2 separate regions of the Homo sapiens genome follow, and region 1 is linked to region 2. The links are contacts of gene promoters, found by promoter capture Hi-C in blood cells and fetal thymus (Javierre and others, 2016). All regions are on one chromosome and are shown on one strand. Each heading gives the region's core, a stretch centred on a gene start or on the middle of the fragment in contact. The rest is flanking DNA. Distances are from core to core; before and after follow the strand shown. Region 1 holds the start of ERICH6-AS1 (ERICH6 antisense RNA 1). Region 2 holds the start of P2RY14 (purinergic receptor P2Y14).

Region 1 (6,808 bases), core at 2,570-5,069, 580 kb after region 2:
GATGATGGATATGCTAAATATCCTGATTTGATTTTCACACAATGTATCACATATTGAAACATCACACTGTATCCCATGAATATGTACAATTATGATGTGCCAATTAAAAACAAAATTAAAGAAAGGCAAACAAAATATCAAATGATGACAATAGGGAACAATTACATAACATTATATACTTGAGATAGGAAATTTTTTAAAAATCCATTACCTCTTGATATGGTTTGGCTCTGTTTCCTGACCCAAATCTCATCTTGAATTGTAATCCCCACATGTTGAGGGCAGGACCTGGTGGGAGGTGATCAGATCATGGGGGTGGTTTCCCTCATGCGGTTCTCGTGATAGTGAGGGAGTTCTCAATGAGATCTGATGGTTTAAAAGTGGCAGTTTCTGGCTGGGCATGGTGGCTCACACCTGTAATCCCAGCACTTTGGGAGGCCAAGGCGGGTGGATTACCTGAGGGCAGAAGATCGAGACCATCCTGACTAACACGTGAAACCTCGTCTCTACTAAAAATACAAAAAATTAGCCAGGCGTAGTGGCGGGCGCCTGTAGTCCCAGCTACTCGGGATGCTGAGGCAGGAGAATGACGTGAACCCGGGAGGCCAAGCTTGCAGTGAGCCAAGATTGCGCCACTGCACTCCAGCCTGGGCAACAGAGTGAGACTCTGTCTCCAAAAAAAAAAAAGAAAAAGTGGCAGTTTCCCCTGCACTCTCTCTCTCCTGCCAACAAGTAAGATGTGCCTTGCTTCCCCTTCACCTTCAGCCATGATTGTAAGTTTCCTGCGGCCTCCCCAGTTATATGGAACTGAGTCAATTAAACCTGTTTATTTTATATATTACTCAGCCTCAGGCAATTCCTTATAGCAGTGTGAAATCGAACTAATATACCTTTGAAGCACTCAATACATTAGAAACATTTTCTAAACAGAGTTATGTGGTCCTAAAATAATAATAATAAAATACAAAATCAGTCCTCAGAAAATAGGCCAGACAGGATGACTCACACCTATAATCCCAGCACTTTGGGAGGCCAAGGTAGGAGGATTGAGTCCAGGAGTTCAAGACCAGCCTGGGTAACACATTGAGATGCCATCTTAGGAAAAAAAAAAAAGAAGAAGAAAATAAACAATAATTAAATTTTATCTCAAAATAGCCCCATAAATTAAGTGGAAAGGTACTGATATTTCCATTTAACACACCAAGAAACTGAGGCTCAGTAACCCCAAAGTCACAGTTAGTCAGGGCTGGTGCCTGGTTCTCAAATCTCAAGTTCCTGAGTCAAGCTAGACACCAGGAATGGAGAAGGGGAAAATATAAACTGACCCAGCATCATATTATCTCTGAACGGCCAAAACAAGAGTGGCATCAACTCATGAGAAAATAAGGGACTGTTCTTTCCGTAGTAAGTAGATCCAAGGGAAGGAGATTCCATAAAATGTTCAAAAAAGGTCTTAAATAGAGGGTCTAAACAAGGAGTACTTAAACAAATTAATTCACCACACAATTGAGAAAATGCCAGGGCAGTCACAGAACTGAGCTACAGCAGGCACAAGCGGAGTAAGCACAAGCACTGTCACCCTTGCTGTCTGCCAGCCCCGTGTCTCATCCCCACATCCTGACTTCCAGTCTGCTCTCTGAGGACCCTGGTTGAATTTCCTAACTTCTAAGATAGCTTCCAGCATCAAACTGTTAGTATTGTCCAGAAAAGAAATGAGCTTTTTCTTATTTTCTCTTTTTAAATTACACTTACCTTATTTGTACCTCAATATCTGTACACATAGTTCCCTGTCCTGACCCTCCTTTCCTGCCGTGAGCCTGCTGGAAAGCTTTTCACTTTCCTCTCTGGTCACCACATTTTGCCCTTCCTTTTAAAGCAACTCAGATGTCTCCTCTCATCTGTGCTGCCTGCTCCTTTAGCCTGCAAGAACTCTACTTTCAAAAATATTCCCTAGCCAGGCACAGTAGCTCACGTCTGTAATCCTAAGAACTTTGGGAGGCCCAGATGGGAGGATCTCTTGAGCCCAGGAGCTTGAGACCGAGAGTTTGAGACCAGCCTGGGCAACATAGCAAGACGCCATCTCTACAAAAAGTAGTCCCAGATACTCGGGAGGCTGAGGCGGGAGGATCAGCTTGAGCCGGGAGGAGGAGGTTGCGGTGAGCTGAGATAGCACCACTGCACTCCAGCCTGAGCGACAGGGTAAGACCCTGTCTCAAAATAAATATAATACAGGCCAGGCACTGTGGCTCACGCCTGTAATCCCAGCACTTTGGGAGGCTGAGGCAGGCAGATCACGAGGTCAGGAGATCGAGACCATCCTGGCTAACACGGTGAAACCCCATCTCTACTGAAAATGCAAAAAATTAGCCAGGCGTGGTGGCACGTGCCTGTAGTCCCAGCTACTCGGGAGGCTGAGGCAGGAGAATTGCTTGAACCCAGGAGGCTGAGGTTGCAGGGAGCCGATATGGTGCCACTGCACTCCAGCCTGGGTGACAGAGCGAGACTCCGTCTCAAAATAAATATAATATAATATAATATAATATAATATAATATAATATAATATAATATAATATATAAAATTGGCCAGGCGTGGTGACACACATTTGTTGTCCTTGCCACTTGGGAGACCGAGGTGGGAGGATCACTGGAGCCCAAGAGTTCAGGGCTGAAGTGAACCATGATGCCGCCACTGCACTCCAGCCTGGGTGACAGAGTGACATCCTGTCTCTCAAAAATAAAAAATGTATATATTTTACAAAAATGTAAGTAAATACAAAGTCCCAGAAGGACGCAGGTGGTACCTAGGTGGCCAGATGCTTCAGGACTTTTCTACTCCAGGATGGATAGATGGGCCAAGTAAGAAGCAGGACCCAGATCACAGCAAGGAGCAAAATTTATGGGACGCTAAAAATGTCGCCAATCAAGATTAATTAATATTAATCTAACAATATTTAAGATAACTAACATTTAAGGCAATTTTAATACGCTTATTAATATTTAAAGCTATTTTAAAAATATCCGCAAACGAGGGCCCAAGGGCTGGCGCCTGATTTTGTAAATAAAGTTTCACTGGACGTTCCAGCAAGCATCTGTCTACTCAATAACCAGACTCCAGCATCCGCAATACCAAATGGCACCGTGTGTGTCCGTCGCTAGAAGCCACTTCCTCCACCCAAGTTAAAAAAAAAAAAAAAGGCCCCAAATAAGCTGAGAGACGAAGAAAAGATCGTTTCTCCGCAGGCTGCCAGGGGTTTCAGAGACGCTGAAGAGCAGGGACAGAAAGAAGTCTGCGGTGGCCCCCACCGGCCCTCGGCACCCACATTCTATCCGGCTAACCAGCTCCTGCCGCTTTAAATCCGGGAGGCTCGGTGGCGCAGGGCAAGCAGTTGCCCGGGGAGACCAACGCACAACAGAGGCTCGCGCTCGCGAGAGCCGACCGGGGCCGCGGCCAAAGAGCTGGCTGTAATCCCGCCTCCCGCCAGCCATGGCCCACTTGCGCTCGCCTAGCGGCTTCGGAGACCCGGGGAAGAAGGACCAGAAGGAGTCAGAGGAGGAGTTAGAGGAGGAGGAGGAGGAGGAAGAGGTGGAGGAGGAGGAGGAAGAGGTGGAGGAGGAGGAGGAAGAGGTGGAGGAGGAGGAGGAGGAGGTGGTGGAGGAGGAGTTGGTGGGGGAAGAGCAGGAGTTGGAGGCCCCTGAGACGTTCAGCGAAGAGTACCTCTGGAAGGTCACGGACATCGGTGACTACGACGACGACTTCCCAGACGTGCGCCCCCGCTTAGCCAGCATCGTCAGCCCTAGCCTGACCTCTACGTTCGTGCCCAGCCAGAGCGCGACCAGCACTGAAACGCCGAGCGCAAGCCCACCCTCCAGCACCTCCTCGCATAAAAGTACCGCCCCCGACCCACCCCTTCCTCGAGGGTTTCTCGTCTCCAGGGGGCACCTGGTCCACCCACTCCTGGGTGGTGCCTTCGTCGACCTGCGCGTCGTGCCTGATTTCTAAATGCATGCACCATTCCACACACCTAATCTCTCTCACGCCCTTGTCAGAGACACTGAACCCTTGGCTGAGCTGTTGTGATGAGGCACGATTTAGGATATAGGCGAAACACCATAAAAGTTGAACTTGGGCATGGCTGTATGAAGTGCTTTTTTTTTTTTAGACAAGAGTCTCGCTCTGTCGCCCAGGCTGGAGTGCAGTGGCTGCAGCCTCGACCTCCTGGGCTCAAGCCTCCCACCGCAGCCTCTCGAGTAACTGGAACTACAGGCACACGCCACCACACCCAGCTAATCTGGCGTCTCACTATGTTGCCCAGGCTGCTGGGAGTGCTCATTTTTATAACATTTTTGCGTGCATTCACACCGTGACATCTCTCTCTCTCTCTCTCTCTGTTCCCCCTCCCCTCCCTCTTCCTCCCCTCCCTCTCCCCTCCCCCTCTCTTTCTCTCTCCCTCTCTCTCTCTCTCACAGACACACACACACACACACACACACACTCATATTATTTCCAGAGAAGTGCCTTAAGGGTGCTGTACTACTGAAACAGTCCTGCAAAAAAAAAAAACAACTCTCTTTTGTGTTTAACATCCTGTGCTGAAGCCACTCCAGTCACTTCCTTGAAAAAAGAAGCAGAGAAGTCTTCTAGAGTAGGCTTCTCAAGCTCTAGTGTTGACATTTTGGTCTGGATAATTCTTTGTTGGGGAGGATTGGGGACTGTCCTGTGAATTACAGGATATTTGGCAGCATCCCTGTCCTCTACCCGTGGCTGTGCTAGAAGCACACATCCTTGCGATGATCAAAAATGTCTCCAGGCCGGGCGCGGTGGCTCACGCCTGTGATCCCAGCACTTTGGGAGGCCTAGGCGGGCAGATCACGAGGTCGGGAGATCGAGACCATTCTGGCTAACATGGTGAAACCCCGTCTCTACTAAAAATACAAAAAATTAGCCGGGCGTGGCGGCGTGCGCCTGTAGTCCCAGCTACTTGGGAGGCTGAGGCAGGAGAATAGCGTGAACCCGGGAGGTGGAGCTTGCAGTGAGCCAAGATCGCGCCATTGCACTCCAGCCTAGGCGACAGAGCGAGACTCCGTCTCAAAAAAAAAAAAAAAAAAAAAAAAGTCTCCAGACATTGCCATGTGTTCCTGGGGGGGGTAGAATTGACCTTTTGATTTAGAGGGAATAGCTGATTTTTAAATGTTTCATTCAACAGGTTTCCCTAAAATATTTCAGACATTTAGGAAAGACATGTCTGAAATGAGTATAGATAGGTAAGAAAATGTTTTCAAATTTCACATTTTTTGAACCCAATAATGTTTACCTTTTGGATAAACATGTTAGGAAGTAGAGTAAAATAATCCAGGGCATTTGTGACTTACTTATTTTAAAAAGTTTTTTTTAAATATACACTGGTAGACACTTTGAAAGAGATAAAGGTTCCCACTTATCCCCAGCTTATTACCTAGCTCTAGAGATTACATGTCCACTTATCAATGTAACATGAAAGAATAACTATATATGCCATGTGTGCAATTGTAAGTGCTTGAGAATTTTGAATATAGCTTTTATTGGCTAAATGCAAGAGTGACCAGGGACGCCTTTTGTGGAAGAGAGTGGAAATAATAGCTTTTCCTTTTTCCTCTCTCTCTCTTCTTTTTCTTGTTATTGCTATTAGCCTTCAGGCACTTTAACTATAGTAAGAAGATACCAGTGAAATGCCTTCTGGAACATCTTTGTAAATATTCCCTGAAATCTCACACCAAACCTGAGTCAATGATCTTGAATTATTAGTTACCCTAACTTTGCTTTTGTAAGCAACTTTTGAATTCTTAAGTCTAAGGAGAATTGTTCTGTCTCACTTACATGTTTTTAGTTATCCTTTTAATTCAATTTGTAATAAAGATAATGTATACATGTGGTTAAAAAAATCAAACTACACAAAGGTATAAAAATGAAAATCTCATGCCCTTCTTCACCCCCACTCCCACTCACCTTCAGTTTTGTTTCCATTATTTAAAATGACATTTTCATTTCTTGGTTTATCAATTTCTGACATGTGTATTGAATTCCCACCTCTCCACTTTGGTAGTTATATTATTTTTAGTTTTTCTAACATTTAGGACTTCGAGGTATTTAAACCTCTACTTCTTGATTCATCAATTTTAGTATCTATTGACTATAATGAAAAATTAACATGTTAATGCACTTCCTCCTTCCATCTTTCTTCTCTCCTCTTTTTTCCCAATTAACAACAAACTATATGAAATGATAAATTATATTAAAATGCAGTGTATATTTACATAAAGTTATATTACTTTTCCAAGCTTTATTATGCTTGTATTATGGTTTGTTAATTATAATTAAAGTGCTCTGGGGTTGTTTCTAAAAATTGAAAACCAACAAACAATACTAACACTTCTATGTTGACAAACCAGTAATATGATTGAATCTATGGACAAGAAAATATAATCCTATGTCTATAAAACTTGTCTCTTAAAAAGTAAAGTTTTTGCCAGATGCAGTGGCTCACACCTGTAATCCCAGCACTTTGGGAGGCTGAGGTGGGCAGATCACGAGGTCAGGAGTTCAAGACCAGCCTGGCCAACATAGTGAAGCCCTGTCTCTACTAAAAATACAAAAATTAGCCGGGCATGGTGGCGTGTGCCTGTATTCCCAGCTACTTGGGAGGCTGAGGCAGGAGAATCGCTTGAACCCAGGAGGTGGAGGTTGCAGTGAGCCGAGATCATACCACTGCACTCCAGCTTGGGCAATAGAGTGAGACTTCATCTCAAAAAATAAATAAAAAATAATAATAAT
Region 2 (6,727 bases), core at 3,126-5,625:
AAAACGAAGTATGTTCTTACATTCATTAAGTTTCATTCCAGCTCACTCAGTGACTTCCCAAGGCCTGTTTTCCTAACTTGTTCTATCACTGTATTAAAAAGCTGAGCAGTTAGGGTACTGAGTAAATAAACTGTCTGATAAAGCGGCGTGTCATCCTCTTAGTTACCTGTCCTAAGTTGAATCATTATGCAGGTCAGGGATTCAGACATCTACAAAAGGGATTCAAAAGTGTACAACTACAAGTGATTAGATGATTTAATACACTTGGGATAATATTATTTAAAATATTCATAGTCATTGTTCTCAGATAATTTCCATTATCTCATTTATCTTTACTTGCAGAACCAGAGCACGGAGTTGGAGAATATTCTCTGTCTTCCCCATATTTTGGTTACAGATATTCAATTAACAAATACTTCTGAGTATGTACTATGGTAGTGAACATCACGGGTACAAAACAAAGCCAGCAAGGACGGCTAGGCATGATACAGAAACACAGGCCACATCAGAAGAATAATGACAACACTGAGGTATTAGGGACATGTCTAAAGACGTGGTGAGTCTTGCAAGCAAATGGGAACAACAGGAAGATAATCAGAGATGACACATTTGTGAGACCTCAAGGTGAAAAAGAAAATGCTTTCCTCTGCTTCCTCAGCATCTTTCCAAAAAAAATACTGAAAAGAGAAAATACACATACAAAAGTTTTTGTTTTGTAACAAAGTTCTAAATTCTGATTCTTTGCTAACATCAGTCGAGATTCAGTCCTTCTGATTTTCAAGATTTAAACCCAATCTAATGCTAGCAATACAGAAAATCTGTTTGCACACTTCAACTAATTGGGATTAGACAATCAACCATGACTCAACGTTAGTATCCACACCAAAGTGAGGTTTTGTGAACTGCCTACAATACATGTACAAATTGCACCTATTAATTTTTTTAAAAACTGTTACTTCTTTCAATCTACCAGAAGGGGGTGATATTGTACCAGGCATTTGTTTCTCCATTGTAATTCTCAGATGAAGGCAAGTGCACAATTGCCAATGAAGTCCCATGTCCTGTCATTCATTGCAAGAGGTTTAACAAAAAGGCATTATTTTATAATGTGGTGACTTATCTCACATCTTAATGATGTAATTTCTGCCCCCTTTCTCCACTACTCTAAATCAACAAGCTGGTAGAACTGAATGCTTCACATAGGGAAACATAAAAAGGCATGTCTGCATTCAATGTTTTCCTATCAGATTACAATTTTTTCAAAACACTTTTTCAATTATTTTACTACAAAGCTCAAAAACTTTACAGCACACTAAATTAGGAAGTCCTGAGCGTGACATTTTGGATCCCCGACATTACGCGCTCCTCCACCTTTGCTGGCTTTCCTAACATTAAACCTTGGCTCACATCATTCTTTTAATACAGTACTAAGTTGACTTTCACCCCCATTCTACAAGTAAAAGAGCCATCCAACAAGAAGCATTTTGGATGCTAGTTCCTTCAGAGATCCTATAGAGGACAATTTCCAAATATGCTTCCTTTAAATATCCTTGTACACTGTACTTTCATAAAATGTTTACACCGGGCCTTTACTAAAATCCTCTACATTCTTACGTCAACATCTTTCTCAACAACCAGTGGAATCCTTTCGGCAGCCATGCCCCCCAACACATACAAAACACACACACACAATTATAAATAACTTGCCAGCAAAACAAACAAACAAACAAAAAAAAACAAAAAAAAACTAAATTATATAACCCAGCAAATATCTGCTATGGTTAAAATAAATTCATTGAAAATGTTCATATTTATCTGAAAATCCATCAATAGGTACTGATTAAACAAATTATGGAATACTACAAAGCTACGAAAAAGAATAAGGTCTATACAGGGCTCACATGAACAAGTCTCCAAGAGAGCAAGTGGGGATGAGGCCGGATGCGCTAGTGTCTTACTCACTATGCTCAATAAAGCAACCAGGGAAAGGCAGGGGAAGGGCAGTAACAATGAAGTTGTCTCTGTACTTACTTTAAAGAAAAATGATTTCAAAAGACATATGGTAACAATTATGCATAGGTGAATTCCGGGGTAAGGAGCAAAATAGGACATTTATGGAATCAAAATGTAAGCCAGCCAGCTATTTATGCGCAGTCGATGACGGCCTGGATAGAAACTGACTGGAAACAGTTACAGACATATTTGGGGATTACGTGTGTTAAACTCATTCTATTTGTAGTATGAATACACAAGGGATGTTTATATATAACCAGTCCTATTACTAATAAGGCAGAGTCCTGTCTCTAAATGGTATTGGAGAATGTGTGAGCACGTGGGGTGGGCTAGGGGTGGTTGTCATATCAGGGTTATGTTGAGGGCTCTGAGAAAAAGATTAGTCAGGAGGAAATCACAGTACTTTAATCTTAGGATTCCACCAAAGGAAATGGGAATTCAGAACTATTTAGCATAAATCAAAACACCACAGATAAAAGGAAAATATTGACTATTTTAGATTTTGTTTTTTAAAAGATTCTTGCACACAAGGACCAGGCCCTCTATTATTTTAATTATAATGTCGTTATTGGCTATGTTGTATTATGCCTGGTGTCTAGTGTTGAAAAGAGTCATTACCTACGTTGCTAAAAGTCATAATAAAATATCTTTTTATTTTTTATTTATTTATTTTGAGACAGAGTCTCACTCTGTTGCCCAGGCTGAAGTACAGTGGCGCAATCTCAGCTCACTGCAACTTCCACCTCCCGGGTTCGAGTGATTCTCCTGCCTCAGCCTCCTGAGCAGCTGGGATCACAGGCGAACTCCACCATGCCCAGCTAACTTTTTTTTTTTTTTTTTTTTTTTTTTTGTATTTTTGGTAGAGATAGGGTTTCACCATGTCGGTCAGGCTGGTCTGGAGCTCCTGACCTTGTGACCTGCCTGCCTCGGCCTCCCAAACTGCTGAGATTACATGCGTGAGCCACCGTGCCTAGTTTAAAATATCTAATTTCAAAAACATATGAAGATAGAATAAATATTGTCAGGCTAAAATATTTTTTCAAACATTAATACTTACTTCCAATTCTAATAAAGGAAAATGTGTACAAGCTAAACTGTGATTTAAGCATATCCACAAAATGTACAGCACAACCTAAAGACTACTTCAAAGTCCAGTCCTGCTACTTTCTAGCTTAGACAACTGTTAAATTTTCTGAGGCTCTATTTTCTTACTTGTGAAAAAAAGGAATAGTTACTTCTCCAAGGGTTGCCAGGTGTTTTGGCTGTGAAAAGATCTAGTAGGCACAGAGTACGCTTCAATCGAGTGTACGAGTATGTGCATTTGAGACGATCCAATCTTTCCAGATGAGCTTTCCTTTCAAGTGCCTAGCTGTCTGCCCCCTACCCACCCCTCACCATCCTTGTACTGCTACGTGCCAATAAAACCACAGAACAGAGGTCACAAGCTGACTGCTCACAAGCCCAATACAGTGCACACTCAGGTTTTGTTTTAGCCCACAGGGTATCAGGTCTACACTGGTTTGTAAGGTATTCGATTTAGACACCAACAAATGAAATCAGAGGAGACATATAAAGGCAGTAGCAGTGCACAGGCTCCAGGATCTGCCCAGCTCCAGCAACCTGATGTAACATCTCCATGCCTCAGTTTCCTTGTCTATTAAGAAAAAGGTGGGGAAGAAGTAGTAGACAGACCTACTTTACTCATGGAGCCATTGTGAGTAATCAAGCTAAAACACACAGAGTGTTTAGAACAGTACATGCAAATCAGCGTTTAATGTTCTGAAGACACTGGCCCATCCCAAGATGAGGCCCATGACTCTGGCAAGCTTCCAGACACAACTGTCCCCCTGGGTGGGCCCTTTAGCTTTCCATTTCTCCATACTCCCTCTACTCCCAAGTGTCTTACACAGAGTCCAACCCATTTGTACCACCTGCCACGAGGGGACCACCTGTAGGGCTATCCTTTTGGCCTTGGACTTTGCAACTCCTGGCATTAAGAGGCAAGCAAGCAGCTCCAGTCAAAGAAATTATCATGTTCTCCCCAGTCATACTCAATAACATCTATGTGAAACACCCCACGGGGAAGTCAAGAAGCAACAAATTATCATGTTCTCCCCAGTCATACTCAATAACATCTATGTGAAACACCCCACGGGGAAGTCAAGAAGCACAAAAGGGACCCGGAACAATTAATGGGTGTTTTTGAGACTGTCAGAGTAAACAGCATCTCCTGCAATAAATCAGGGAAGTCTTGAGAGTCGCACCTTAGAGATACGGTTCCTGCCAAATCATCAATTTAATCAGCAAAATGTTTACATCTGGAGGACTCTGCAATGTGCCCTGGTAATAACCAGGCTCTAGCGGCTCCTCCTCACATCCACTTGTCCTTAAGTTTATTTACCTACCAGATCTCACTGCAGCTGAAGCTAACAAGCCTCTCTATGCACATCAGTATTCTTAGCCCCTCAATCAAAGCATCAGTGAGGACTATTGGGGCCCGCTGGGGGTCTGAAGAAGAGTCCCTCTGGCAGGGAGAAATGGCGAACTTCTCTAAACAAGCTCTGTGTCTCACAGGTCTTTGCCAAGGATCAACAGTGACTAGCAAGTCTGTGAGACAGAAAGTAAGAAAATACTCTTCATGAGGGAAATAACTGTTTGGGTATGTGTCAGTCACTACTCCATCTCCAATGTCCAGAACACTGCCTCCTACGTAGCAAGTACATATAAAGCAACTAGAATAGTAACGGGCATGTCATAAGCCAGTTATAATTATTATAACTAAATGTATAGCTATGTTTTTAAGGCAAGCTGAACTTTACTAGTTGTTACCCATAATTTGGCAATGGAACAGCCTAAGTAAATACACTTAAAATGCAGGAACCTTATAAAGTAAGCTTTTCAGCCCCTTGTCTTCTTTCTTTCTGGTTCTGAGTTATACACTTTGAAGAGGACTTTGTAGCCATCTTCTGAAAACTTCCAAATCTAATGGCACTAATAGTCAATGGGAAAGACAGTGGAGCACTGCAGGACATCACCAATTATATTACAGAGCCTGAAAGGAACTAAAAATATGAAGACTTTCAAAATAGTAACACAGCACAAACACCAAAATGTTAACACACGAGGAGTTTATCTGAAGTCCTACTTGTGATCTATTTATCAGTAATGTTCAAATATGGGAAAATTAATGTGGGAAAAATGACAATGCAACACCTCTTATCTAGAATATGTCGACATTGGTGTCAAAATACTTCTTTATTCTGTTAATTCCGCATTTCCAGGTAGCTCCAACTACCCATCTCTGCACGTTATACTGTGAAGCTGCTGACAATTTTCTGAGGGTGCTTCAGAAAGAACCATATCTTACACATCAGTTCTCCACCTCATACCACATGTTGAATTTGACAATGGCAAAGGTTAGAAAAGAAAACAGGTTTTTGCCTGGCTGTGCATCAGATGATGTAGGGATGTGGGGAAAAGTAGGAGGAGAAATAAGAAAGCAGGACTGTTTTTGCATTACTGGAGGAAAGGAACTAGCTCAGAAGTCAGCCTAACACCCACAGAGATTAAAACGTCTCTTCCTTCCTCTTTGTTTCCACGTCCCAGTCTTCAATAAATTCTATCTGACAACAGCAGCAGAGGGACCCACTATCTTGTGGTTTCTGTCAAGTTCCTGATTTTCATCCGTAGTTGAAGATGAGCAAGAACTCTGTAACAGTGTTACCTTGGAGCCTACAATGAGAGGTATTTCAAAATGAGTGAAGCATGACTCTCACAGATGAAGGCCTAGACGCAGGTAAGAAAACAGCTTTTCCATGAAATGACTTGCATGTATGTGAATGGTGCATGGGAACAGAAAAGATTTCTGAGCTGGGCAGCAACAAAGCTGAGGAACACTGAACCATTGCCACTCACATTTTTCTCAGTAGGTTACTTTTTGTTTGACAACTATAATTGGTATATTAATATATTTCCCCATGCTAATATGGGGATCCAATACTGAAATATTATCATTTATGATTTAGGATTTCCAATCGTGGCTGTCAAAATATATCTGTGATGAAGAGATATCAAGGAAAATGTTTAAAAGGTATTCATCCAGGACAAACATTTCAAAAGCTCGTAAATGTGTATTAAAATTGCTTCTCAAAACTACAAAATCGATTAGCATAATACTTAGGTCAGTATGTCTTTGTTTGCAATTGCATATGTGTACAGATATATAGTTGCATTTACTTGTACATACACTTATATAGGTAAAAGTTTTTATCTTTGTCATTATTAGGATAAGTTAACCCCATTAACACCTACTAAAATAAAATGCCTTTAAATTGTAAATCACAGAAATATCTGTCCTAGGCATAGCAAATATTTGAGTTCATATGCTACTTATTTATAGTCTATGACTAATCAGCTAAATTACTTACAATTCTTTAAACATTATAAATTAAATTACATTCAGGAGAATTAGCACAGACCCACAATGTCAGCTTATTCAACCAAGCCCATGCAATCCATCTTGTCTACATATACTTTGTTAACCAAGGACAATCAATCCTACGGAGAAAATGAATCAAAGATCACACTAGTAAAAAAATAAATAGTTTGTATATTCATCTTTCTAAAACATACAAACTTGATAATCAGTTTTAGCACTAAAAAAAAACCTAGCCATTAAGTTAAAAAGAAAACAATGCACTCGGAAAATACCAAA

Evidence for each region. Contacts are between HindIII fragments. The CHiCAGO score rates a contact against its expected background, and 5 or more counts as called.
Region 1: the fragment with the promoter of ERICH6-AS1 here is called in contact with a fragment that was not itself captured in region 2 in 1 of 17 cell types (total B cells); the score reaches 5.5 in total B cells.

The regions. Positions count from the first base shown.
Region 1 is chr3:150,700,575-150,707,382 of GRCh38, reverse strand. ERICH6-AS1 (ERICH6 antisense RNA 1) reads right to left here and starts at 3,819. Exons shown (of 3, transcript NR_121675.1): 1 at 3,716-3,819. It overlaps ERICH6 (glutamate rich 6), which reads left to right and starts at 3,463. Exons shown (of 14, transcript NM_152394.5): 1 at 3,463-3,887; 2 at 5,205-5,262. The coding sequence starts at 3,485. RefSeq lists enhancers at 3,268-3,357, 3,508-3,587. The HindIII fragment of the contact is 4,487 bases long and covers 1,831-6,317 here.
Region 2 is chr3:151,277,369-151,284,095 of GRCh38, reverse strand. All of the region lies in intron 16 of MED12L (mediator complex subunit 12L), which reads right to left. P2RY14 (purinergic receptor P2Y14) reads left to right here and starts at 5,554. Exons shown (of 3, transcript NM_014879.4): 1 at 5,554-5,809. RefSeq lists a silencer at 1-75. The HindIII fragment of the contact is 1,068 bases long and covers 3,842-4,909 here.